Linked DNA regions of Homo sapiens: regions 1, 3, 4, 5 and 6 are each linked to region 2. The links are contacts of gene promoters, found by promoter capture Hi-C in human tissues and cell types (Jung and others, 2019). All regions are on one chromosome and are shown on one strand. The core of a region is centred on a gene start or on the middle of the fragment in contact, and the rest is flanking DNA. Distances in the headings are between cores, read along the strand shown.

Region 1 (4,709 bases), core at 570-3,069, 240 kb after region 2:
TTTTATTGTTCCTTTAAGCATATCTCTTCTCTGGCTGCTTTAAAGATTTTCTCTTTATGCTTTGCTTTTAGCAATATGACCATGCTGTGCCTAGGTATGCTTTTCTTTGGATTTTCCTGCTTAAAGTTCCCTGAGTTTCTTGAATCTCTCAGTTGATTTCTTTCTTCACTTTTGGGAAATTGTCAGTAATTATCTTGTCATATATTGCTTTTGTTCCATTCTTTTTTCTCTCTTTCTGGGATTCCAATTATATGAATATGAGACCATCTGACTTTGTCCCACATGTCTCGTTCTCTGTTTGGTTCATCCCATTTTTGTTTCCGTGATTGAATTCTGTTATTTATTTATTTATTTATTTTTGGCCTGTTTGCAAGTCTGTGAAACCTGTTTTTCTGTAACTTACTCTGCTTTTAAAATCATATGAGAAGTTCTTAATTTCAGATGTTTATTTTTCAGTTTCAGAATGTCCACTTGGTTCTTTTTTTATAAATTATGTTGAAAATTGCCAATTGCATTATTTTACACATATTGTTAATCTCTGCATCTCAGGTACTTGCCTCCTAACGTTAATATCTGGGTTTTCTGTGAGTCTGACTAATTTTCTGGTTTTCTCTTGATTATGTGTCTGCCACATATTTTGCTTCTTTTGATGTCCCTTAATGTGTTTACTTAGTGTCCCCGAACTAGACTAACACTGTGTATGAATGAACATGATTTTCTTTCAGATCATGTGTTTTCTCCTAGAGAGGTGTGCTCTTTGCTGTGTCAGACAGATAGAATGAGGAGTTTGATTATCTCAATCCAGTGAGGGATTACATAGACCGCTCCCTCCCTCTACTAGGATTCTGTCTTCTTACGGAAGTTTTCTCTTCCCTTTTGACCCAGCCTCTTTTTTTTTTTTTTTTTTTTTTTTTTTGAGATGGAGTCTTGCTCTGTAGCCCAGGCTGGAGTGCAGTGGCGCGATCTTGGCTCTTGGCTCGTCACAACCTCTGCCTTCCAGGTTCAAGCGATTCTCCTGCCTCCGCCTCCCTAGTTGCTGGGATTGCAGGCGTGCACCACCATACCCAGCTAATTTTTTGCATTTTTAGTAGAGACGGGGTTTCACCATGTTGGCCAAGCTGGTCTCGAACTCCTGACCTCAAGTAATCTGCCCGCCTCAGCTTCCCAAAGTGCTGGTATTACAGGTGTGAGCCACCGCGCCCAGCCTTGACCCAGCCTCTCTATCATCCTTCAGTGTTCCAGTTACATTTCTGAGGAGATATACCACTGGGAAAGCTGTCTATGTATCTAGAGCTTTTCTAGATTCCAGTCTGTCATTTCAGCCCACATGGGCATCTAAAGCACTACTAGTCTCTTGTTTCCTTTATTAGAGTTCCTCTGCTTAAGCCAAGCTCAGTCCTTACTCATGCCCAAGCTCTGCAGTTACCCCCATGGAAGAACAAGCCAGTGGTCTCAGCTGCCTTGGAAGTGCTCTTCCACCTCTGGATTTTTTGTTCTTTTAGTCCTCATTGCTTCCACAGCTTTCTTACGTTGGTTAGTCTGGTCTTTGAAGCAGGCGCATTGGCCTGCCTCCTATCTAATCACTTACTTTAGGGAAGTGGAAGTCAGAAGTTTATCTTTATAAAAAGAAAAGGCAGATAATTTTAGGAGTGCTTATTTTTATAAGCATAGTGATGTTTTGAATAGTTTTATCTGTGTTGCATACTCATAGCTATAAAGCATTTTTTTCCTTTCTGATATGGGCCTGTTTATCAAAATATGCCCCAGATCTGGGGCGAGCAAACAAAGACCCACAGACCAATGAGGCCCAATTCTTGTTTTTATGTAGCCTGTGAACTAAAAGTGGTTTTTACATTTTTAAAAGGTTGAAAAGAAAATAAAAAAGGAAGAGAATGTTTTGTGAGCATTATGTGAAATTTGGAAGTTTTATTGTAATATATGCACACTCCTCTCTTTATGTGCTGCCGATGGCTGCTTTCGTGCTGTAACCATTGAGTAGTTGCAACAGAGATCTTGTGACTCACAAAGTGTAAAATATTTGCTGTGTGGCCCTTTGCAGAAAAAATTTCCCTATTCCTGCTTTACATCACAGGCTCAGGAATTTTTTATTTCTTATTACTAAGAGAAATTAAGCAAAAGATTGAAACCATTTTATTCCAGAAGTTCTGTAAATTTGGATTTATTAAAATCTTAGCATTTTAGAGGATTTACAAGGAACCTCAGTCTCCTTCATCTCTTTATTTTGCAAATGAAGCAGATTTGAGTGAAAGAGGTTTTAAAATTATGACTACATTTTTGGTATAAAGTATACTCAGTAATAAGCTGATAGAGAAACTATTGATCTATATCACTGAATAATTTGCAAAATTGATTTGTTCTTATATTGCAGAAGTATTTGATTTTTCTTAAGCAGTGTAGCTCTTAAGAAAATATTTTTGGAATTTTTAAAGTAAATATTTTAAGATAAATATTTAAGGCATGTTAATAGCCTTTTCCTTTTATTGTCAACCACAATTCTTTCAAATCTGATGGATATGAAGTTATTTTTGTGAGAAGACTGAAAGTCTTACAGGACCAATTCCAGACATTCTTCATTAAGCTTCGATTGATTTAGAATATAAAGCCCTAAATCATCAGAAATTCCAAGTTAAATTGTTAATGTGTAAGACTGGTTTTTAGAGTTTCTCTTTTATATTCCCATCCTCAGATATTGTGAAAGGTTTAAGCTTAGTTCTCAAATATAGAGATATAATGGTGTGTTATATTACTAGCAAATGGCATTTTTAAATTTTCCAATGTTGAATACAAATTTTGTTTATATAATTTTCAACTTATTACTGGCTCTTTTAGAAAACTTCTACCTCTTCCTCTGCAAACCAAATCAACAACAACAACAAAAAACACAGTAAAAGTAATTTATAATTAATTTGGGAATAGCTAGTTCTTGGATGGCCTGTACTTAAGAATTGATGGGTTCAGATTCATAAGAATTGTTACAACCAATTAAATGCCATCATGCATAGAAAGAAGTATTTTAGAAATGTACGTAAAGTCATTTGAACTTTAAAGAAGTTCCATTAGATAAAACAGACACAAACATTGGTCTCTAATTGGGAAAATTTGAGTCAGTTATAACTTGTCTTTAGGAAATCTATCTGAATTTGGATTTATATATTCTACTTCTCTGAAAATTGGTTTGGAATAAATTTTGATGCTTTTATAAGTTATATAGAAGGGGCTAACCTCTTAGTAGTTATGTATTCCTGTTGCTCAAATACCTGATTTCACTCAGGTAATCTTTAATATAAAGGAAAGTTGGTTTCCTAAATAGTATGAAGAATACGTATTGTGTTTTATTTATTTATTTGTTCATCTGATATTTATTGACCATCCCTGATGCTTCACATTGATGCAGGTGCTGAAAGTACACAGTTGAAATAGACATTCATCATGCCCTCACAATGCTAGTAGTTGAGTAGATTCTATAAGCAGGTATATGTATTTATGTTTAGCATTTGGCACTGTTAATCTTTCTCTTTCTCTTTACTTTTATGGCATACTATCTTGTGGAAATCTCATCCACATACATAGTTTCCATGACCTCCTTTGTACTAAAGTCTGTGCAAAATAATCCCAAGGATAACTCCTTAGTGGGCCTTTCTGGCTAGAGATGCTTTAAATGCACTCATGTCGATACCATAGATGTAGATACCTTATTTTAATCTCTGAGTAAGGCATGTAGCTGTAGCTCTCAACTTCCTCATTTCTCCCCTTCCTCACTCTTTCTCTTATACTTTCTCTTTCTCTTAAAATACTCGTTGAGTACTATATCCCAGGAACTTTTCTGGACAGAGGCTAGAGTAGTGAACAAGAAAGACAGGGCCCCTGCACTATTGGAGCTTTTAGCTTGGCGAGGAAGCAATACATTAAACAGTTCCATACATAATTACAGTTATTGGCTGTACAATGAAACATAAATATACGATGAATGAGAGTGTATATTAGGGAAACTCATCCAGTGTGGGGAGTTAGACTTAAGTGACACTTATGCTGAGACCTCGAAGATAAGTAGTGGTTAGCAGGAGAAGACGTGGTAGAGAATTTCAGGAAGAGGGAAAACCTTTGTGAAAGTTGTGATGAAGCTTAACAGGTTCAGACAACTGAAAGAATATCCTTCTTGCTGGAGTATGATGAATCAGGTGGAAAAGAATGCAAAATGAGGCAGGAGAGATTGATGGAGGTCAGTTATTGGAAGAGGATCTTTTAAACGATGTCGGTGCTTTTGGACTTTATCTTAAGAGAATTGAGAAGATACTGATTTTTAAGCTGGGGAATTATCCACTCAGGTTTGTGTCTTTAAAAGTTGAGTTAGGTTCCTATGTGAAGAATGGATTGAAGGGTATGGATGTGCAGAAATGAGTTAAGCTTTTGCAGTGGTCCAGGTAAGAGGTGGTGGTAACCTAGCTTATTAGCATTGCAGCAGTAAAGATGGTGTGGACAGATTCAATAACTGTTTATGAGATATAATTGACCAGATTTTGTGATTATTTTGATTTCAAGAGTGAAACTGAAGGCAATGTCAAGGATAACATTTTCATCTGCTTGTTACTCTTGTCTATTTGTTGACATTTTGGTATTTTGAAGTTACACATCTTCAAAATCAAACCCATTACTTTTTTTCCAGCAGGCTAACTCTTCCTTCTAACTTC
Region 2 (4,264 bases), core at 1,627-4,126:
GAAAGTCTAGTACGTGTAGCTGTCATTTGGCAAAGCATCCATGTGAGGAAGAGCTTCTCCCGAGCTTCAAAATCACAAGTTCATGGAAAAAAATCACAGTTTACCATTTGTACAATGGTAAGCTGGAAACACTTAAGGAATATAACTGATAAAGACTTTTGATTAAGGCCGGGCGCATTGGCTATGCCTGTAATCCCAGCACTTTGGGAGACCAAGGCGGGTACATCACTTGAGGTCAGGAGTTCAAGACCAGCCTGGCCAACATGGTGAAACCCCGTCTATACTAAAAATAGAAAAATTAGTCGGGTGTGGTGGTGCACACGTGTACTCCCAGCTACTCAGGAAGCTGAGGCAGGAGAATCGCTGGAACATGGGAGGCGGAGGCTGCAGTAACCCGAGATTGTGCCATCGCACTCCAGACTGGGGAAAAGAGCGAGACTCCATTTAAAAAAAAAAAAAAAAAAAAGACTTTTGATTCAGAAGTGAGCTTTGAACAACTCCAGCTATGTATGCAGCAATTAATACCTAAAATCTTTATTTCAAAGTACCCAGCCAAAGAAAATGGAAAATGATCAACAAATGGTCTAGAAGCAGGACAATGACAGAAAGCGAAGCCATATGGAACCAATAAAGATTTCCCTTGGACTGCAAGGCCAAAGATTTTATCCCCTCACTCTTAAGAAATGCTGGGAGTTGATGCCTGAACCGTATAAGATACTCTCAGTTAAACAATGTTTGCTTAATTTGACGGCTTCGTGAATTGTGTTCAGTTCATTCCACAGTATGAGCTCAGTCATTCAAAATTTGTTTTGTTTACATAGTCCCCAGGAATATGAACCTCTCAGGTATTTCATCATAATTCTGGTAGTCTGAGAAGGCAGTCAGGTAAGCATCACCTACAGAATGGCATTCGAGGCAAGGGTGTTCTGATTGTACAGACCACAGCTAACACACATACATCAGATCCCCTCCCTGCTGAGGGGCTACTGGCTCCTGAGATGAAAATCTCATAAATATAATAAACGGCAACACTGATTCCATAAGCCACAAGTTGGAAAACGTATTCTATTATGTCTTAGTCATACCATACACACTATAATATTTCCACATGTGCTGGGTAACCACAGTCTGTGATGGAGTGTGGCTCATTTATTGCTACTACATATTTTATGATAAAAAGCATTTGAAAAAATATTGAGAAAATTCAGTAAGACAAAAGACAAGCAATCTGGCATCGTGCTCTGGTTCTGCTACTCTGATCTTCACAAGTTGCTTAACATTTATGCTTTGATTTTCTCAACTAGAAAATTCAGGCATTAGACTAGATGGGCCTATGCTCCGTTTCAGTTGAAATATTCTGTCAATTAGATCTAAGATTTATACGACGCTAACATTCCAATAAAAATTCTGGCCTGTTGTTGGCATTCTATGCATATCCCGACATTTAGGATCATCTGAATGTTTTACTAAAATTTTTACTGTTGTCATTTCTCAGTTTTCTCAAATTGATGTTTCCAATACTTTAAACACTGGAGCACCACATATATTAGGAAGGCTTTATCTACGTTATAAACTATGGAAGTGAAAGACAGTTTTAAATGTAATCACATTTTATGAAAAATAAAATTATCCACACTTGCTACACTTTAGTTTTCTGGTTACTATAAACACTTGAAAGCCAAGTTGTAAAATTCTTCTGTAAACCTTTGGGAAATGAGCACTGGTGTGTCTAACCCCCTCTCAGACTGCAGGTGACCTTGTCAGCAATAGGAAGCCATGAGAACTCAAGTACTACAGATAGAGCCAGGTATGCTGTGGGGGCACCTCTCTGGAGGACACAGAGCTGCAATTTGCAAGCTGTGAGTGGCCCCTGCATTTGAATCCCACAGCTCTGTATCATAAATAGAAATGATGAGAAAAAACACAAGTCAGCTTAGCTATTAATTATAAAAGAAAGCTCTGTTAAAAGAACTCTTCTAGCCTTATCAAAAGTCTCCCAAAACTGGTTTTTCAGGACTAGGCTATGAATAAAGTTTGAAAATTGCCCCCATATACATTAATCACTCCTTAGGTTAGAATGCAGAATATACCATAGAGAAGTTGGCCAGATGCCCACAGATCCCTGTGAGGAACCATGTACCCTTATTCTGCTCCCACACCCTGCCTTTACTCCTTGGTACTTTCAAGTGAGAAATGGTGATTTTCTTATTTGGGGAAGATAGGGTGGAGACAAAAACCTCATAAATATAAACCTCTCTCTCTCTCATAGCTCAGCAACTTGCAATATTTTTAGCAGTAGAGAAAAAAATAAATATGACTTATTAACTATAAAGCAATATTTGAGTTCACTATTTCACTAAAAGCATCATTTATGAAAACAGAAAGATCCTTTAAAAAATGTTTGTATAGTCGCTTGAGAAAATAAACCAGCAGGTGCTGGTCCCTTCACTTAAAGAATTTATTATCCTTTGTGTGGCAGGATTCACCAGCTGACAGCTCCCACCCAGAAAATCAAATAGGTGCTCGTTTCTGTGATGCCCATAACGTGTAAAATTGCCAAGAAGTTCAATGCAATGTGACCTAAAAGTACAGCAAGGAAGAGCAGAGCTAACAGCCAGCTGGAGGCTGTCAAAATTTACAGGAAGAAAAGACAAAGATAATACAGTAAGTTCTAATTTTAATCATTTGTAAGGAACACAGAGAAAGCTGTGCACATACAGCAGATGTATTTCTGTTTGCAAGTATAATTCAACTTACCTCTATTGAGCAGAAAATCAGGACTTTTTGGCTAACCAGCCTGTAGTGATTCCCTGGGAGGATCTGGCTGAAAGAAATGGGAACCTAGAGTTTATTCAGTGGAGTCTCAACCTCTACCTGACTGTATTAGTGAACAGTTCAGAGGTTTCTTGCTCAGCGGCTGAGTCACTCAGGGAGGAGGTGTGTGGTATGCAACAGGGTGTCACCTTGTACAAATACCAGTTCAATTAAAGCATTCTCACTCATATACCTACTGTCTTTGTTTGAATTCTTTGTTTAACTTATGGCCTTATGCAAAAAAAAAAAAAACATATATATATATATGCTCCTGTGATCACCCTTTTAACTGATATCAACAGTATGCACAACCATATCACTGACAAGGTGGCATAGGACCCAACCTATTTTGTATTCTCTTTCAAAAAATAAAATTGAAAACTCAAGATAGAAGGAACCCCCATACACCCATAGTACCTGGAAGGCAGGGGCACAGACAAGCATGCAAGGAGTATATGGCTTAAAGGAATCTTCAAGACAAACAAATTCTCAGAAACCCAGGAACCCTAGGATTAGAAAACACAAAAGAAGTCTGTTCCACACATTCTACACCTAGACTATTTTGTAAAACTATCAGAGGGAAAATACACCTAGCATGTAAGAATTCTAATCTCTATCTTATTTATCCATGTATAAAAAAATGTGAAAAGGGGCCAGGCGTGGTGGCTCACATCTGTAATCCCAGGACTTTGGGCGGTGGAAGCAGGCGGATCACCTGAGGTCAGCAGTTCAAGATCAGCCTGGCCAACATGGTAAAACCTGATCTCTACTAAAAATATAAAAATTAGCTGGGCGTGATGGCACACACCTGTAACCCCAGCTATATTAAATAACTATAACACACCATGATAAAGTCATATACAGAAATTTTCAATGCCAGGCATCGCATAGTGGAGAGAAGGAAGAACCTGGAAGGTGATGTTGATGCAGAGTTTTAAAGTCTGAGTGGACAATGATTAGATGGTCAAGAAGAAGAAGAACCATTCATCCACTCTGGCAGGAGGAGGCAGGAGAATCACTTGAACCAGGGAAGTGGAGGTTACAGTGAGCCAAGATCACACCACTGCACTCTAGCCTAGGCAACAGAGTGAGACTGTCTCAGAAAAAAAAAAAAAATGTGAAAAGGATGGTTGAAACTTCTTTCAATGCTGAGGGCAGCAGTAGACCCAACATCAAAGGCTGCTTCTGGCCAGTTGCAGTGGCTTTCACTTGCACTTTGGGAGGCCAAGGTGGGAGGATCACTTGAGCCAAGAAGTTCGAGACAAACTGGGCAACACAGTAAGAGAAGATCTCATCTCTACTAAAAATAAAAAAATCAGCTGGGTGTGGTAGTGCATGTCTTTGGTCCCAGTTACTCAGGAGGCTGAGGCAAAGAGAGTCTCTTGAGCATGGGAGGACCAAGCCACAGTGAGCTGTGATCACACCACCGCATTCCAGTATGGGTGACAGA
Region 3 (4,492 bases), core at 1,963-4,462, 150 kb before region 2:
CCTGGTGGTGACAAAATCTCTCAGCATTTGCTTGTCTGTAAAGTATTTTATTTCTCCTTCACTTATGAAGCTTAGTTTGGCTGGATATGAAATTCTGGGTTGAAAATTCTTTTCTTTAAGAATGTTGAATATTGGCCCCCACTCTCTTCTGGCTTGTAGAGTTTCTGCCAAGAGATCCGCTGTTAGTCTGATGGGATTCCCTTTGAGGGTAACCCGACCTTTCTCTCTGGCTGCCCTTAACATTTTTTCCTTCATTTCAACTTTGGTGAATCTGACAATTATGTGTCTTGGAGTTGCTCTTCTCGAGGAGTATCTTTGTGGCATTCTCTGTATTTCCTGAATCTGAATGTTGGCCTGCCTTGCTAGATTGGGGAAGTTCTCCTGGATAATATCCTGCAGAGTGTTTTCCAACTTGGTTCCATTCTCCCCATCACTTTCAGGTACACCAATCAGACGTAGATTTGGTCTTTTCACATAGTCCCATATTTCTTGGAGGCTTTGCTTGTTTCTTTTTATTCTTTTTTCTCTAAACTTCCCTTCTCACTTCATTTCATTCATTTCATCTTCCATCGCTGATACCCTTTCTTCCAGTTGATTGCATCGGCTCCTGAGGCTTCTGCATTCTTCACGTAGTTCTCGAGCCTTGGTTTTCAGCTCCATCAGCTCCTTTAAGCACTTCTCTGTATTGGTTCTTCTAGTTATACATTCTTCTAAACTTTTTTCAAAGTTTTCTACAAGGCTACAGTAACCAAAACAGCATGGTACTGGTACAAAAACAGAGATATAGATCAATGGAACAGAACAGAGCCCTCAGAAATAACGCCGCATGTCTACAACTATCTGATCTTTGACAAACCTGAGAAAAACAAGCAATGGGGAAAGGATTCCCTATTTAATAAATGATGCTGGGAAAACTGGCTAGCCATATATAGAAAGCTGAAACTGGATCCCTTCCTTACACCTTATACAAAAATTAATTCAAGATGGATTAAAGACTTACATGTTAGACCTAAAACCATAAAAACCCTAGAAGAAAACTTAGGCAATACCATTCAGGACATAGGCATGGGCAAGGACTTCATGTCTAAAACACCAAAAGCAATGGCAACAAAAGCCAAAATTGACAAATGGGATCTAATTAAATTTAAGAGCTTCTACACAGCAAAAGAAACTACCATCAGAGTGAACAGGCAACCTACAAAATGGGAGAAAATTTTCGCAACCTACTCATCTGACAAAGGGCTAATATCCAGAATCTACAATGAACTCAAACCAATTTACAAGAAAAAACAAACAACCCCATCAAAAGGTGGGCGAAGGACATGAACAGACACTTCTCAAAAGAAGACATTTATGCAGCCAAAAAACACATGAAAAAATGCTCATCATCACTGGCCATCAGAGAAATGCAAATCAAAACCACAATGAGATACCATCTCACACCAGTTAGAATGGCAATCATTAAAAAGTCAGGAAACAACAGGTCCTGGAGAGGATGTGGAGAAATAGGAACACTTTTACACTGTTGGTGGGACTGTAAACTAGTTCAACCATTGTGGAAGTCAGTGTTGCGATTCCTCAGGGATCTAGAACTGGAAGTACCATTTGACCCAGCCATCCCATTACTGGGTATATACCCAAAGGACTATAAATCATGCTGCTATAAAGACACATGCACACGTATGTTTATTGCGGCATTATTCACAATAGCAAAGACTTGGAACCAACCCAAATGTCCAACAATGATAGACTGGATTAAGAAAATGTGGCACATATACACCATGGAATACTATGCAGCCATAAAAAATGATGAGTTCATGTCCTTTGTAAGGACTTGGATGAAATTGGAAATCATCATTCTCAGTAAACTATCGCAAGAACAAAAAACCAAACACCGCATATTCTCACTCATAGATGGGAATTGAACAATGAGAACACATGGACACAGGAAGGGGAACATCACACTCTGGGGACTGTTGTGGGGTGGGGGTAGGGGGGAGGGATAGCATTGGGAGATATACCTAATGCTAGATGATGAGTTAGTGGGTGCAGTGCACCAGCATGGCACATGTATACATATGTAACTAACCTGCACATTGTGCACATGTACCCTAAAACTTAAAGTATAATAATAATAATAAAAAAAGAAACATCTTTCCATGGTAACAAATGTACTTCTAAAGCATTAGTTTTAATGGATCTGTGATGAAGAAATACAATTTATTTAATCTTGTGCTTAGGACACACAGGAGACACATACCTTAATCTTCCATAAGGATAAAATCTCTGCAGTTCTACTGAAAACTCATAGTCCTTATATAAGCTTTCTAAAACTCATCTTCCTGATATTGAAAATAGTGATATAATTCTTGTTATAATTTATTGAGTATTGGATACAAATGCTTTCATTCAATGTATTAATAATAAGTATTGCCTTCCCATTTTACCAATGAAAAAATTAAAACTATATATTCGTTAACTAGCAAGTCAAGGTAAGAATTATAAGGAAAGTATGTTGAACACTGTATCCTGTATAATAAACCATCCTGTTATTAGTAAAAAAAAAAAAAAAAAAAAAAAAAAAGAATGAGTTAGGGAAAATTCCCTTCTTATGTAATTTTTGGGGAAAATTTCAGCAGGATTGGTACCATTTCTTCTTTATTTGCTTAATAGAATTTGGTTGTGAATCTATCTGGTTCTGGGCTTCTTTTTTGTTGGAAGATTTTTTTATTACTAATTCAATCTCACTACTCATTATTGATCTGTATAGAATTTGTATTTCTTCCTGGTTCAGTCTTGGGAGGTTGTATGTTTCCAGGAATTTATCCATTTTCTCTAGATTTGCTGGGTTATGAGCATATAGTTGTGCATAGTAGTCACTGATAATATTTTGTATTTCTGGGGTATTCGTTGTAATGTCTCTTTTTTCATTTCTGATTATGTTAATCTGGATCTTCTCTCTTCTTGGTTAGTCTAGCTAGTGGTATATCAATTTTGTTTATCTTTTCAAAGAACCAACTTTTGTATTTTTTTATATTTGTATTTTTTTGTCTCAATGTCATTTAATTCTGCTCTGTTCTTTGTTATTTCTTTTCTTCAGCTAGCTTTAGGTTTGGTTTGTTTTTGGTTTTATAATTCCTTGAAGTTCAACATTAGGTTGTTAATTTGTAATCTTTCTATTTTTATGTAGACATTTGACACTATAAACTTGTATCTTAGTACTGCTCTTGCTGTATCCTAGAGGTATTGATATGTTGTGTGTCATTCATTTCAAAAATTTTTAAATTTCTGTCTTAATTTCATCATGGACCCAAAGTTCCTTCAGGAGTATGTTGTTTAATTTTCATGTATTCGTATAGTTTCCAGAGTTCCTCTTGGTATTGATTTCTAGTTTTATTCTGCTGTCGTTTGGGAAGATACTTGATATGATTTTAATTTTTTTCAATTTATGGAGACTTTTGTGGCTTAATATATGGTCTGTCTTTGAGAATGTTCCATGTGCCAATGAGAAGAATGTATATTCTACAATTGTTGGGGAAAACGTTCTGTATATATCTATTAGGTCAATTTGGTCAAAAGTCTAATTTAAGTAGAGTGTTTCTTTGTTGATTTTCTGTCTCAATGATCTGTCTAGTGCTGTCAGTAAGGTATTGAAGTCCCCCACTATTATTGCACCTTATTCTTTAGGTCTAGTAATATTTGTTTTATGAATCTGGGTGCTATGGTGTTTGAAGCATACATATTTAGGATTATTTTATTCTCTTATTGAATATATCCTTTATAATTTTATAATGCCTTTCTTTTTTGTTTGTTTGTTTTTTACTGTTTTGAATTGAAATCTGTTTTATCTGTATAAGTATAGCTACTCCTGCTCAGTTTTGGTTTCCATATGTGTTGAATATATTTTTCCACCCCTCTACTTTCAATGTATCTATATTTTTAACCAATAAGATGAGTTTCTTGTAAGTGGTATATAGTTAGATCATGTTTTTAAATTCATTCTGCCAATATATATCTTTTAAGTGGAGCACTTAATCCATTTGCATTCAATGTTAATATTGATAGATAAGGTTTTATTCCTGTCATATTGTTCATTGTTATCTAGTTATCTGGTAAATTCTATTTTTTTTTCTCTGTTTGCTCAGTGGTTTGGTGGAGTTCTGTCATAGTGCCATTTGATTCCCCTATCTTCCTCCTGTGATTTGTAATTGTTGTATAAGACCTGAGAGTGTTTACTTTCGTGTATTTTTATAATGGCAAATATCACCTTTTTGTTTCAATATATTGGACTCCTTTAGCATTTCCTGTAGGTCCACTCTAGTGGTTATGAATTCTCTCAGTGTTTGCTTATCTGGGAATGACCTTATTTCCCCTTCATTTATGAAGCTTCTTTTAGCTGGATATAAAATTCATGACTGATAGTTTTGTTTTTGTTTTTTTTTCTTTTTTCTTTTAGCACTTTGAAAACAGCATACCATTCTCTTCTGGTATG
Region 4 (4,589 bases), core at 2,034-4,533, 180 kb after region 2:
TATGGAAAAAAATAAAAGAAAATTTAAAAAGAAAAAAAAAGCTTTGGGACTTGCCATAGAACAGTATGAAGGGCATGAGGAAAATTACAGACTGTGGGTTAATCAGATGGTTAATTTTAACAATCACGGATATATCAAACAGAGAACAACAAGCTCAAAATTACACTCTGTTGTTTCTGTCAGGTCTCCTATGTGAAAGGTTGGGTATTTAGTGGGAAAGAGCAGAACTTCAAGAATTAGAAGAAAGACACATGGGAGAATTCAGAGGCCTCAGACAGCACCAAACCTGAAAGCCTCCATTAAACCTCCTAATTGTCAGTTGAAGCCCCCCTACCTCTCCTGTCTGATGACATGGTTCCTGCCTTGCTGTAAGACCTTATAGCATTCCTGTATAAAGGAGTTACCCTGAAAGAGAAATGCAATTCTTCCTCATGCCCTCACATTATTGTCACATTATCTCTAGACCTATACCTAGAGTCAGATCCCAGGATTCCTCAGAGGAGCAATTTAAAAGTCATACCTGAAAAGATACAGAGTACACATCAATATGGTTGGCAAAAATCTGGAGAATATAGATGTAAACAGGTTTTGAGTATGTGATGCCAAGGAAAAAAGGACTCAAACTTAGTCAAGCTGAATTTGTGGATATGGGTGTGCTTACCAGTTATTCTGGATTCCTTGTGAAAACTTAGACAGCTTGGAGTCTTCTGGTTTTTGGTTTAATTGGTTGACTAATGCATAGATTGAATGGTGGCCCATGCTAACTGAAGCTGAGATGTTAAGATGGCAAGAAAGATGGGAGCCTGGGTCACTGATGATAACACAGAGCTGCCGAATGAGCTCTTGAACAGTGCATCATGAGATTGCATTTATATGGGCAATAAAAGCTTTGATCTTGTTTGGGCGAATATTACAAGTATATCTCTTCTATGAAGCAAAGTTAATTCTAATTAGTACAACATGAAAAGTACACATCTCAAATCTATTAGCCTTTTTCAAAAGGACAGATGGAAATTTATCAAGACAACTGTATGTTAGAATTCATGATGTATTTTTTCTTGGAAAAAAAAAGTACACATTCCTAATTCTATCCACTGAAAAGACCCAGGAACAATGACAAGCCCAGTAGCAATGAGCACCCTAGTACCCACTAAAATGAACAAGGGCACCTTGGAACAATGACCAATAGTAGAGCTGAGTAAAGAAATGTAAAAAATGAATGTCCTTCCTTGTATCAGGAGGCAAGGAATCTGTCAAAGGCTAATGGGATGCCAGAAGGTCACAGGAGCCAACTTGAATGGTCTCTCATTGTCCAAAGATTACATCATTTGGGATCAAAAAGAATGACTCAAATTACTAAAAACACAACATATATATACAAATGAAATCGTCAATGATAATGCTAGAAGAAAATCATCCCATGGCTTATCAGTAGAAGTGGCTAGGACATAACTTATTACCATAAAAAATAGATAAAGGGACACATAAAACATTTATTCTGTCTTTCTTGTATGTATTTTATTTTTCTGGTAAACAAATGATTGATAAAGAGCTCTCTTCATAGAAGAGTTTCTGTTAATAAATACAGAAAGAATGAAAGAATTAGAAAATCATCACATTTCAATTCCAAAATGGCAAAAGAGACCTAAGACTTGATTATTAATAAGTGCCAAAATTGGCCAGACACAGTGGCTTATGCATGTAATTCCAGACTTTTGGGAGCCTGAGGCAGGAGGATCATTCGAGTCCAGGAGTTCGAGATCAGCCTGGACAACATAGACCCCCATCTCTATCAAAAAACAAACAAACAAATAAAAAAAACATGTTTTTAAATTAGCCACGCATGGTGGCGTGGGCCTGTAGTCCCATCTACTCGGGAGGCTGAGATAGGAGAATTGCTTGAGCCCCTGAGTTCAAGGTTGCAGTGAGCTATTATCCTGCCACTGTACTCCAGCCTGAGTGATGGAGTGAGACCCTGTCTCAGAAGAAGGAGAAGGAGAAGGAGAAGAAGAGAAAATAAAATAAAAGAATAAGTGTCAAAACTGTTAGATGAAATATGGGTGGGGGATTTACAGTGGATGGATCAGGCTGATCACACATGAACTCACTGATCAGTCCTGGCATTGGAAAAATGAGACCATCGGCCAGTATGAGCCTCCTGATGTAAGACAATAGGATCATCACCATCTCTGAAATACTTTTCACCCCAAAAATGAGACTGTATTTATTCACATATTTAGCCAAGTCCCTACAGGAATGTGTAAAATAAAACATAAAGCCACTTCCAGGATGTGGGAAATTCTTTTAAAAAAAAAATTTTGAACAAGTAAATGACATAAAAATAAGAGGGATCTATATCACAATAAATTACAAGAGACTTAGCAACCAACATTGTTTGGCTCCTGATCCAAACACTTGAGAAAATTAGGAGGATTTGATTATGTTCTAGGTACAAGGTGACATTAAGAAATTATTGTTGACTTTAGGCCTGGCATGGTGGCCCACGCCCGTAATCCTAGCACTTTGGGAGGCTGAGGCAGGCGGATCACGAGGTCAGGATATCGAGACCATCCTGGCCAACATGGTGAAACCCCATCTCTACTAAAATCCACAAAAAAAAAAAAATTAGCCAGGCGTGGTGGCATGTGCCTGTAGTCCCAGCTACTTGGGAGGCTGAGGCAGAGGAATCACCTGAACCCAAGAGGCGGAGGTTGCAGTGAGCCTAAGCCAAGATGGTGCCACTGCACTCCAGTCTAGTGACAAAGCAAGTCTCAAAAAAAAAAAAAAGAGAGAGATAGAAAGAAAGAAAGAAAGAAAGAAAGAAAGAAAGAAAGAAAGAAGAAAGAAAGAAATTATTGTTGATTTTATGTGATATAGTGATATTATTGTTATCTTAAAATGTTAGAGATCCATTCTAAAATATTTATGGATGAAATGATATGACGTCTGGGATTTGCTTTATTATATACTTGTTAAAGCCAGAAGGGAACTGATGAAACTAGATTGGCAAAATGCTGATAGTAGTTGAATCTGGGGATTTACAATATCAATATTCCTGCTTTTGTGTATGTATGAAGAAGAAAAGGAAAAGGAGAAGAAAATGCAGATGACTTCTGGTGCTTCTTCTTCCTTCTTCCTGTTTCTTCATCACGAATGGTATGTGACTACAGGGCTTACAGTGTAGCCACCATCAAGTGACAATAAGGCAAACATGAGCATGGGAATAAAAATAATGTAAGAATAGTAGACAAATACAAAGGAAAATGCTGAGCTGTTACACCAATTCCTCACCTACTGTGGATACCTTTTTGTGTGAGACACCTCAATCTCTACATAAGTAAGCCACTGTGAGTGGAATTTTCTGTTCACTGCAGGCTCACATTGTGGTTACTAATACAGTTTGACTCAATTACCACCAGTGATTCGGGGCTCTTCACGTCCCCTGGGTAAACTTAGCTAGAATGACTGGCACTAACAAAAAATAGGGTTGCTGCTTCACAATAAAGTCAAATCCCCAAATCAACAGGCTCAAAAGAAGTTTGTATTCTCTTTTGCCATGCCAGAGAGAAAATATTGGAAGGTCATATGGAAGATTTTGCCTTTTGTCAGTTATTTCTGGGTAGTTTATTAGAGCTTGGAACTAATGAGGCCATGGATACCTTTTTGTCTATTTTAGTGGCCAAATCAATGGTTTTGCTGTAGTTTGGTATCACACCAAACTTCTAAACTATAGTTTAAATCAATGGTTTTGCTGTAGTTTGGTATCACACCAAACTTTTAAAGTATAGTTTAAATCAATGGTTTTGCTGTAGTTTGGTCACACACCACTGATTAGGGCACAGAGATTTTGAGTGTTCATGCTATAATCCCAGGGTAAACATATATTTGGATCACTGACGGTATTAAAACCACATTCTAACTGCATGGTTCAGTGAATCAATTTCATTATCTTCATATATGTTAAACAGAGCTTGTTGACTGAATCTGTCCTTCAAAACATAATCTGGTAGAAAATTTCATTTATTTCACAAAATTTGAATTGGCACTTTCTTGCTACTTATCTCAATACACTAGAAGAACAGAAATAGTTCCTCTATTAGGTTCACAAGATGACTAACAAAAAGGCATCATATTAAACAAACCCTCTATTACCCAATTTTCTACCTAGAGGGGTGACGTGGGAAATGATTTGGCCTTTAATGATTTCTTTCACGTCCAAAGTTTGCTCTTGTTTTCATGATTCTGTTGATCTCTGGATTCCACAAGTATGCAAATGACTTACCACTGTGCAAACAACTATGCATTAGTCAGAACGTTCATAAAGTTTTGCATAGGAACCTGGAGGAGGTTCATCATAAAAGGACAGATATAATTTAAAATTTGGTAGTAAGGAGTGAGTAAAGGAAGTGAATTTATATGAACTGAAATAAAGAAGGTTTAAGAAGGATTAAGTCTTGTTTTTGAGTATTAAAAAGGTTTGTGTACAAATGATACAAAACAATTATCCTCAGTCCCATGTGGCAGATAGAAATTACAGCAGAGAGAATTTAAACCAGACATTAGAAGAAATCTAAGGACTGTAAAACATG
Region 5 (4,476 bases), core at 5-2,504, 190 kb before region 2:
GTCTTGCTTTAAACCTGACTATTCTGTAGAGGTCCCAAGAAACAGGTACCAACACCTACCAAAAAAAAAAAAAGAATTTCACTATGATAGAGTCAAATTTAATCAACCGTCACAGTAGTATGAAAGCAGTAGACAACTACTTTGGGAGAATCTCTATTGTTTTATTTTTTCCTTGGTGGAGATAGGTAACAAAATAGCATGTCAATAATAAATTCACCAGAACAACCATTATTGTTTATTTTGAAAAACACTTTTCGAATCATGGTAGAAATGCAAAGTGAAACCAAAGGAAAAAAAAACACATGGAAACACAAGTACAAATTAGCAAAAGAAAAAAGGATTACTTAAGGAAATTTGGCAAACACATATCAGGTTGTAGGGTATAATGGACTGAAACTGCAAATTTCATAGAAGCACAATCCCTTATTATCTGTTACTGTACTAAATCATTGCCAATACTGAAGTAAATGCACTGGGGCTATTCTGAACATAAGAGCAAAGCAACATAAAGATGTGATGAAATCCCACAGCTATGACAATGCATTTTCCATTTTCAGCACACAGGAATGATAGCATGTATCAGGAGACCCTGTCTCTGCACAAAAATTCCAATATGATTCCAGATTGTTTTTCCAGTGAGAAAAGAAATTCTTTACAAAGCTTACCCAAAATGAACCTCACAGACTAAGTTTTAATTTTGTGTTCCAAGTTTGACAGAGCATCTCGAGACTAGAAATATGAGCTAGTGGAGATAACATCTTGGGCCAAGCAAGGAGAGACTGGACAGGTTCCAGAAGACAGACATTTGATAAGCTTAATGTCTCAGTTCAATCTGTGTGGATTTTAACAAAAGAAAGGGTCACTCGCAGAACTGTGGATTAGTCTACAACTTTCTTCTTCATCAGCTAAATTTGGACATTAACACTCCTTTATAACAACTAAAATAAGATTGGGAACTGGTACCATATGAAGATAAAAGAAAAACTCAATGAATGGGGTAATTTCTATTCACATTTCCTTAGTATCTAATCCCAGAGGAAATGACAGATGGTCATAGCGAAACATGAGCCAAGGATATAATTGTGTAGGCCTCCACTATTTGTGAAAAGTACACCTACTCTGCTCAAATGTGACCTGTCCTGATTCAATAGTTATAGACATTCAAGTACCTTAAGCCAAGATAAGCTTTTATTAACTGGCCCCAAATTAACTGAGCCACATTTTGGGCGTTTCAAATTACTTAGATAAGCCTTTGATCATTATTTGGTTATTTAACATCCCAGCCTCATGCGTGAATTTACCAAAGACCCTAGATTAGCCTTATTTCAATTTAGGATATCAAGTGAGCTAATCCTACCCATGAAAGTTCTATGCAGTTTTGTTATTTTTATTCTAAAGGGGTAGAGGGGGGTTAGAAAGATGGGCGAGTTAGAAATGGAATACACACAGATCTAATAAAAAATAAAATAAAAACAACCAACTAAAGAGATTGTTGTAGATTTTCTATGTTGAATAATAAACTACACTTACAAAATTTTTCAGTGTAAGATCCCTAACAAATACCTGTATTTGTAGGTAGAGAAAACAGATACCCACCCTCTGCCAAAAACACACTTAGTTTTCTATGAAGTATAAGTAGCCAGGCAAAGAGGATTCCCTGTATTTTATGTTCAATTTCTAAATGAAAATCTGTACATTAGGAATGTTTCTGTATATGTAGTACTCCACATTTCTGAAGTAATTTCACATCCAATATTTCCAGAAATCTTTCTAAAATAGCCCTGTGAAATCTGCTAAATGTCCCCACTTACTAGGCAAGGCCCTAGAAATAAGGACAACCATCTCAATCACAGTGGAGCAGGGATGAGGCATAACTATTAAGGTGAAAACTTCCACCATATTCACTCCTTCAACAACTAGCATACAACACCTACAGTGCGATGGGAGTTATTCCAGGCACAGAAAGGGTCACAGCAATGAACAAAACAGACTGAAACCCCCACGCTCAGAACTAACACTTTAATGAACACCACTCTGTTTTGGTTTTTTGAGGGTTTTTGTTTTTTTTTTTTGGCTTGGCTAGTAGGATGCCATTTACAACACCAAATGTTCAATGAAAATTGTTTTGTTTTTTTTTTTGCCCAACTTAAAAAATTTAAACATACTCAAATTAGTCAATCACACAAAAAAAATTCAGTACTTAAAACATGCTGAAAAATTTATTAAGCACTGGCAATTCAAAAAACAATTTTAGGTATAGACCTCCATCTTCAGATGCTTAATCTATTTGGAAAAAGTCACATACATTAACAACTAAATAAAAAGAAGTTCACAAAACAGGGTGCCTCGAAATAGAAAGCAAACATCGTTAGGACCATCTTCAAAAGAGGAAAACCAACCAAGATACTGAGCTTTGTTGAAGACTGCATACTCAAATAAGTGGCCAGTGTTCTGGGGGAAAAAAGAGAAAGATTATTCTATTCTAGGCTTTATTAGTTAACTTTATACCAACAGACTGCAGATTTAGAGATGCCAGGAGATTTTAATTTCCAGCAATGTTATTTCACTTTTAACATTACTTTCTGTAAATTATCCAAAAAAGCCATTTACACTATTCACATATAAGGGGGAGACACCTAATATTTGAGCCATTATCTCATCTAATTTACAAATATCTATTTCCTTATAACAACACTACAAAATAAATACAAATGTAAAAGAGGCTGAGAAAACTTAAGTAACTTGACTGTGCTGACTACATGATACACAAGACTTTATAAATTGTAAAATCTGAATATTAAAAGATCAGCTTGGAAAAGAGGATAGTAAGTTTTGCAATTTATAATAAAAAGTTTCTTAGGGCCAAGCACAGTGGCTCATGCCTATAATCCCAGCACAGGGAGGCCAGGTGGGCAGATTGCTTGAGCCCAGGAGTTCAATATCAGCCTGGGCAACATGGCAAAATCCTGACCCTGCAAAAAATTTGCCAGGTATGGTGGCATACATCTGCAGTCCCAGCTACTTGGGAAGCTAAGGTGGGAGGGTCACCTGAGCCCAGGGAGGTCAAGGCTGCAGTGAGCCGTGGTTGCGTCACTGCACTCCAGCCTAGGCAATAGAGTAAGACCCTGTCTTTAAAAAAAAAAGTTTCTTAGATCCAAGTCAATTAATATTCCCTATAAGAATTAGGGGTATTAGATACATATTAGTCATCTGTAGGAATATACTATATGCACTAAAAATAACTATCTTATTATATCTTTTAAAAAATATTTAACCATTTGCAAAATTGTGGTTGTGAAGACAACGTATTTTTTAGCAATATTTTAAAAACAGTGATAATGCAGGTGCTGTCTCCCTACAAAATTAAATCTTATAAAAATCCCTTTCCTTCATTTTCTTCAGAAAAAAAAACTTTCTGCAGAAGGGCAGAATTCTAATAAGCTTGTTCTCACAATCTCAAGACAAAGCTTAACTGTGTCCCATACATTCTCTCATAACTTAGCAAGTTTTGTTATCTAGGTCCAGGGTCAAAAGTTGTCAGATACATCATGAAAGCTTTTTGAGGAATCTATGAAATCACAAATGTAGGCAGCAAGAAGAGAAATAGGCCTGGGCCCTGCAAGAAGTTACAGTACAAATAAGCTCATTAGCAATTGTGCAGTTAGAGACAATCTTGGGAGAAATGCAGCCAGATGGACCTACAGAAACCAACCTTGACAAACCCTTACTCAGATGGCTTCCTGGGGATGCTTACTCCATAAACAAGGAGGGACGGCTAACTTACCACCGTGGCTAACTTGCAGCCAAGAAAACAGACTGGGCTAACGGCCTAGGGTAAAGAGGAAATAAGGTAGAAGAGGGTTTAAGACCAGCTCTGCCCACCAGAAACATTCTGGCTCCTCACAGCTATGCCCCTCTCCACATTTCCTACAAAGGAATTAATCTTTACTTTTTGAAGAATTTTCTTTTCAAAACATCAAGGTCAAAAAAGAGGAACCAAGTTTCGAAAATATTTGCTCAAATATTACATAAGCAGCAGCATCTCATCTGAAGCTCCAGGCTCACATTAAGGAACTTTTACCTATCTGTCAATGAAAGAGTTAAGAGTATGAGAGACAAAAGCATAATGCAGAGAGGAAGAGGGTGAAAAGGAGAGGGTAGCTTTACCCTTTGTTTACCTCTCATCACTCCTACTCATGGCTGTGAATTTCTTAGTGAAGTGTCTTTAATTTCTGTGTATACAGAGGGAGATGTATAACTCCTAAGGACTTCAATTAATCACTTTGCAACAAAGTGTGTAAGATAAGTAGAAAGTGACTGTTTTAGAGTAAACATGCTTGTGAATGGGAAAGCAATACTGCAAGCTGATACTTCAACTGATGCTAGTCTATGCCCTGAATATAAGAGGTGGCTAATAAGGAAAATGTTGCAAGGACCCCGACCCATCTTAAATTATTCAACACCAAAACTGAAACA
Region 6 (4,152 bases), core at 1,428-3,927, 220 kb before region 2:
AAGACAAAAGTATGCATAGGTGAAAAACAAGACAAAAGGAACGGCTAAACAGAATTAAGTGTGCTTATTCAGGTAGACAGCTAGAAGGAGGAGGATCTGCAAGGAAAACAATTTTTGTATGATGAGTGGATAAATCAATCACCATGTAGTACTTCTACTATCCTAGGATATAAAGGACTACAAATAATTTACTATTATTATACAAATAACAATTTACTATTATTAATTGATACCACAGGCACTGGTAAGTAATTTATACCACAGGCACTGGTAAGTTGAATAGTAAATATACTATTTGAATAGTAAAAATACTATTCAACTCTAATGGTGAAATAAAAAAATAAGTTACACGGCAAGGAAAAAAGTTTAGTGTTCTTTCAAGTAAATACAAAGAAATAAAACAGACATTTTCCTTACAATTAAAAATTATAAAAAATTATACAATTATACAATATATAATTATATCAAATAATTATACTCACTACAAGATTGTATTCTTGAAATTCCATTTCCAGCTCCATGCAAGCTTGAGTCAAAACTCTGACTATTTCGCACGGTGACCGGAGAACTAATGTTGCTACTAATGGCAGTTGTACTTGGCATCCGGGCTAGGTTAGGCATACTTCTTCGGAGCTTATCTGGAAAAGAATTTTACTAAGTTAAAAATGACAGATGTTATGCAACCAAAGTACTAGCTTTCAAAAGCAAATAACAAAAGTCATATTGTGCTCAATAATAAATACAAATTATTACATGTTGATGATCAAGCTTTCTAACCTATTGTACAGGAAAACACCCTTCCCAACCAGAAGGGTTCCCACCAAATAAGCATGTGTGATGGTTAATATTGAGTGCCAACTTGATTGGATTGAAGGATGTAAAGCATTGCTCCTGGGTGTGTCTGTGAGGGTGTTGCCAAAGGAGATTAACATTTGAGTCAGTGGACTGGGAGGGGTAGACCCACCCTCCATCTGGATAGGCACCATCTAATCAGCTGCCAGCATGGCTAGGATAAAAGCGCAGAAGAATGCAGAAGGAGCAGACTTCACCTTTCTCCTGTGCTGGATGCTTCCTACCCTCGAGCATCAGACTCCAAGTTCTTCAGCTTGTGGACTCTTGGACTTACATCAGTGGTTTGCCAGGATCTCTCAGGCCTTTGGCCACAGACTGAAGGCTGCACTGGCGGCTTCCCTACTTTTGAGGATTTGGGACTCCGACTGTCTTCCTTGCTCCTCAGCTTGCAGACAGCCTATCATGGGACCTCACCTTGTGATCGTGTGAGTCAATACTCCTTAATCAATGCCCCTTCATATATACATTTATCCTGTTAGTTCTGTCCCTCTAGAGAACCCTAACTAATACAATGTGTTAAAGGAGAACGAAACTTCTATAAAAAGACTTAGGGACTAGCTAAGCAGTTAGCTATCTGTTCCTATTCAATAAGTGGCTAAAACTATATTTAAAAAGTTAGAAAATAATCTTATAGCCATTAAATTTACCAAAACAACCCTAGAAATTAAGTTACATGCTTCTTAAAAAAAAAAAAAAAAAAGAACCCTAGAAGAATCAAAACCAACATTTACTGAATCTTTTGCTACCATATCAAAATGGAACAAATTAATAAAATTCAAACTTCAGATGTCTTGAAATATCCACTCATCACATTAACATGACCACATTAATCTCTGGAAAGTTTTAACTTTCATGAGTACGCCACCAAATGTTTGCAGATAAAAAAGACCAAGAGAATGCTTCAATTTTTTTGCCTTGCTAAGTTCATCTTCTGCCACCAAGAGGCAGCAGAGAGTCACATACAGATCTCAATGTTGAGATGTGTGAAATAACACATGTGAAATAAGCCAGCCACAAGACCACAACTCTATGAGACACTTTTTCCTTGATCAATACACATCCCCCAAAAACTAAAGTACCTATGTCAGGTCATTTAAACTGAAAAAAAAAGCATATATACGAGTACTAAGCCATAACTAATTCAAGGACAAAACTAATTCAAGTACTCGATTCCACTCTTCCTAGAGCACAGCATGCGTCACCCACTTGCTGAAATCCCTCCAACTCCTCAATTCCTCCCCTGCTCCCTCTTCTGAAAGGCCAAGCTCCTGAGCACAGCCCAGATGAGGGCTTCAAGGCCCAGGCTCTTTATACTTCTCCAGCCTGGCCTCTCAGCCTGCTCCCCGACCACAGGGGTGAACTCTCTCATACCTGTGAGCAGGCTGGTCCCTCCATGTGGACACCCAACCTCACTTTGGAGAAGGAACAAATGAACAAGGGAACAAACATCTATTGTGTTTACACTAAATACCAGACACTCTGTGAGCTGTTGGGGATACCACAGTGTATTAGGCAGATACAGTCCAGAGTCTCATTGAGTTTATAGTCAAGATTTATGGTCTAGGTTTATAGTCTAGACCAGTGCTTCTCAATCCTTCCCCACCCATTGTTGATCCTAAAGAGAAAATCTAAAATAAATTTAATTAAACTTAAAATTAAATTTTTTCCCAAATAAAATAAATATTAAAGATTAACATTTTGATAGGGGTAAACCATGGAAGATCATAAATCATTGTAATATCTAAAATTTTTTTCACCCCTCCAACTTACAAGATATTTTTATCTTTATTGATATATACCGCAAAACACTAAAGTGCACATATCAGAGCATTCAATCTTGTGGTCATTTTCTTTCAAGCAAAACCAGAAAATAATGATATACTTGAATGCTAATCCAAAAGGCATTCAAGTCAAAATCAAACTCAGCTCTTCTTATTCCCCTTTCATACACTACTCCTTTGACATTACTAACACCTATTAAATGTTGCCATGTCCAGCAATTTTTGCTCCCTTGGGGTGGAAAAGGCAGAAGATTAAACAAGCACAATAAGTATACTTAGATAATATGTATAATAAGAGAGCATAAAAAATTGTAGAGAGTGCTATGGTAGAAAGCACAAAAGAATATTTTACTCATGTGGGTCTTACTAATACTTTAAGAATTGGCACAATTATCCCCACCATAGAGAAGCTTTTCTATGGACTTCCCAGCTGGAAGTATCTACCTCTCACACATTACTTTCTGTGTGTAGTTCTAGAGTAAGGATGCTCAAATATTGCCACTGACTGTTAGATTCCTTGGCAATTTTCCTCATTATCTTCTTGATGCCTATTTTTAACAATCATACGTCTCGTATTCCCAAATTCCTATTAAAGTTCCCAGCCTCACAGAGCAGGTACTTTATATATCAGCAAATATTATGTGTATGATTTGGCAGACAGTGTGTAGTAAGAAGGGAGGAATTAGAAGGATTCATCTCTACATAATCTTAGTGGCCATATCTAGATCTTTTGACTATTACAAAAACTGGTGTAAAAAAGACAGCCTCTATCAGTACTAGACTATTTTCACTATACATATTTCCAATACATATATTTTTAAGCAGCAGGGAGGCACAGGAACATAATTATATGCTATTGAGAAAATTAATTGAGCTTCTATATTTCTTTTTAAAATCTCTCTCCAACTATTTACTATAATAGTTTTCATACATATAGAAATGTTAAAAAATAGTATCATAAACACCTGTTTTTCCACCTGGCTATACTGGTTGTTTCCATTTTGCCATATTTAATTCATCTCCACATGTACTTTTGTTTGCTTTGCTAAACAAGATAAAACTTCAGACATCTTGACACTTTAAATGCATATTGATCTCCTGAGAAAATTCTATGGAATCACAATATTGTAATCACATGTAAACAAATTAACAATATCATATGATAATCTGCATACAAAATTTTTCAGACATCCCAAGAATATCTTTCACAAGCTTTTTCCTCTAAACCACGATCCAATCAAGGTCCATACGTTACATTTGGCTATGCCTCTAATCTGTGTTAGTCTTTAAAACCAATCTTTACTCATATTTAAGCAACAAGTCAGTTTCACAAAGCTTTAATCCTGAAATATGCTCTTAAAAATAAGGTCTTCCAAGTGTAAATATTTAGGACACTATTCCCCTTGGAACAAAGCTGTGATCTCCAACTTGTGTCAGACCATCTGGAAATGAGGTACATTTCCTGTCAAACAATGTGGAACGTTTTAATAACCACATATTCTTTAAAGTTCAGGGAACC

What was found. The method cuts DNA at HindIII sites, captures the fragments that hold promoters and counts their contacts. A contact is called where the count stands out against the background at its distance.
Region 1: a contact is called between a fragment that was not itself captured here and the fragment with the promoter of SCEL in region 2, in 3 of the 25 tissues and cell types used here (H1 embryonic stem cells, heart right ventricle and lymphoblastoid cells).
Region 3: a fragment that was not itself captured here is called in contact with the fragment with the promoter of SCEL in region 2 in 3 of the 25 tissues and cell types used here (dorsolateral prefrontal cortex, heart right ventricle and thymus).
Region 4: a contact is called between a fragment that was not itself captured here and the fragment with the promoter of SCEL in region 2, in 2 of the 25 tissues and cell types used here (liver and thymus).
Region 5: a contact is called between a fragment that was not itself captured here and the fragment with the promoter of SCEL in region 2, in 2 of the 25 tissues and cell types used here (dorsolateral prefrontal cortex and lymphoblastoid cells).
Region 6: a fragment that was not itself captured here is called in contact with the fragment with the promoter of SCEL in region 2 in 6 of the 25 tissues and cell types used here (H1 embryonic stem cells, heart right ventricle, lymphoblastoid cells and 3 more).

What each region holds. Positions count from the first base shown.
Region 1 is chr13:77,297,630-77,302,338 of GRCh38, reverse strand. All of the region lies in intron 1 of MYCBP2 (MYC binding protein 2), which reads left to right. Among named protein-coding and RNA genes, the nearest start is that of MYCBP2, 27 kb to the left of the region's middle. The HindIII fragment of the contact is 4,931 bases long and covers 1-4,284 here.
Region 2 is chr13:77,534,318-77,538,581 of GRCh38, reverse strand. SCEL (sciellin) reads right to left here and starts at 2,876. Exons shown (of 33, transcript NM_144777.3): 1 at 2,758-2,876. The HindIII fragment of the contact is 8,761 bases long and covers 1-4,264 here.
Region 3 is chr13:77,680,863-77,685,354 of GRCh38, reverse strand. No RefSeq gene overlaps it. Among named protein-coding and RNA genes, the nearest start is that of SLAIN1, 15 kb to the left of the region's middle. The HindIII fragment of the contact is 4,030 bases long and covers 1,198-4,492 here.
Region 4 is chr13:77,359,043-77,363,631 of GRCh38, reverse strand. No RefSeq gene overlaps it. Among named protein-coding and RNA genes, the nearest start is that of MYCBP2, 34 kb to the right of the region's middle. The HindIII fragment of the contact is 5,637 bases long and covers 465-4,589 here.
Region 5 is chr13:77,725,101-77,729,576 of GRCh38, reverse strand. All of the region lies in intron 2 of SLAIN1 (SLAIN motif family member 1), which reads right to left. Among named protein-coding and RNA genes, the nearest start is that of MIR3665, 29 kb to the right of the region's middle. The HindIII fragment of the contact is 4,515 bases long and covers 1-3,511 here.
Region 6 is chr13:77,749,689-77,753,840 of GRCh38, reverse strand. It overlaps SLAIN1 (SLAIN motif family member 1), which reads right to left. Exons shown (of 7, transcript NM_001242868.2): 5 at 483-638. Among named protein-coding and RNA genes, the nearest start is that of MIR3665, 54 kb to the right of the region's middle. The HindIII fragment of the contact is 4,059 bases long and covers 648-4,152 here.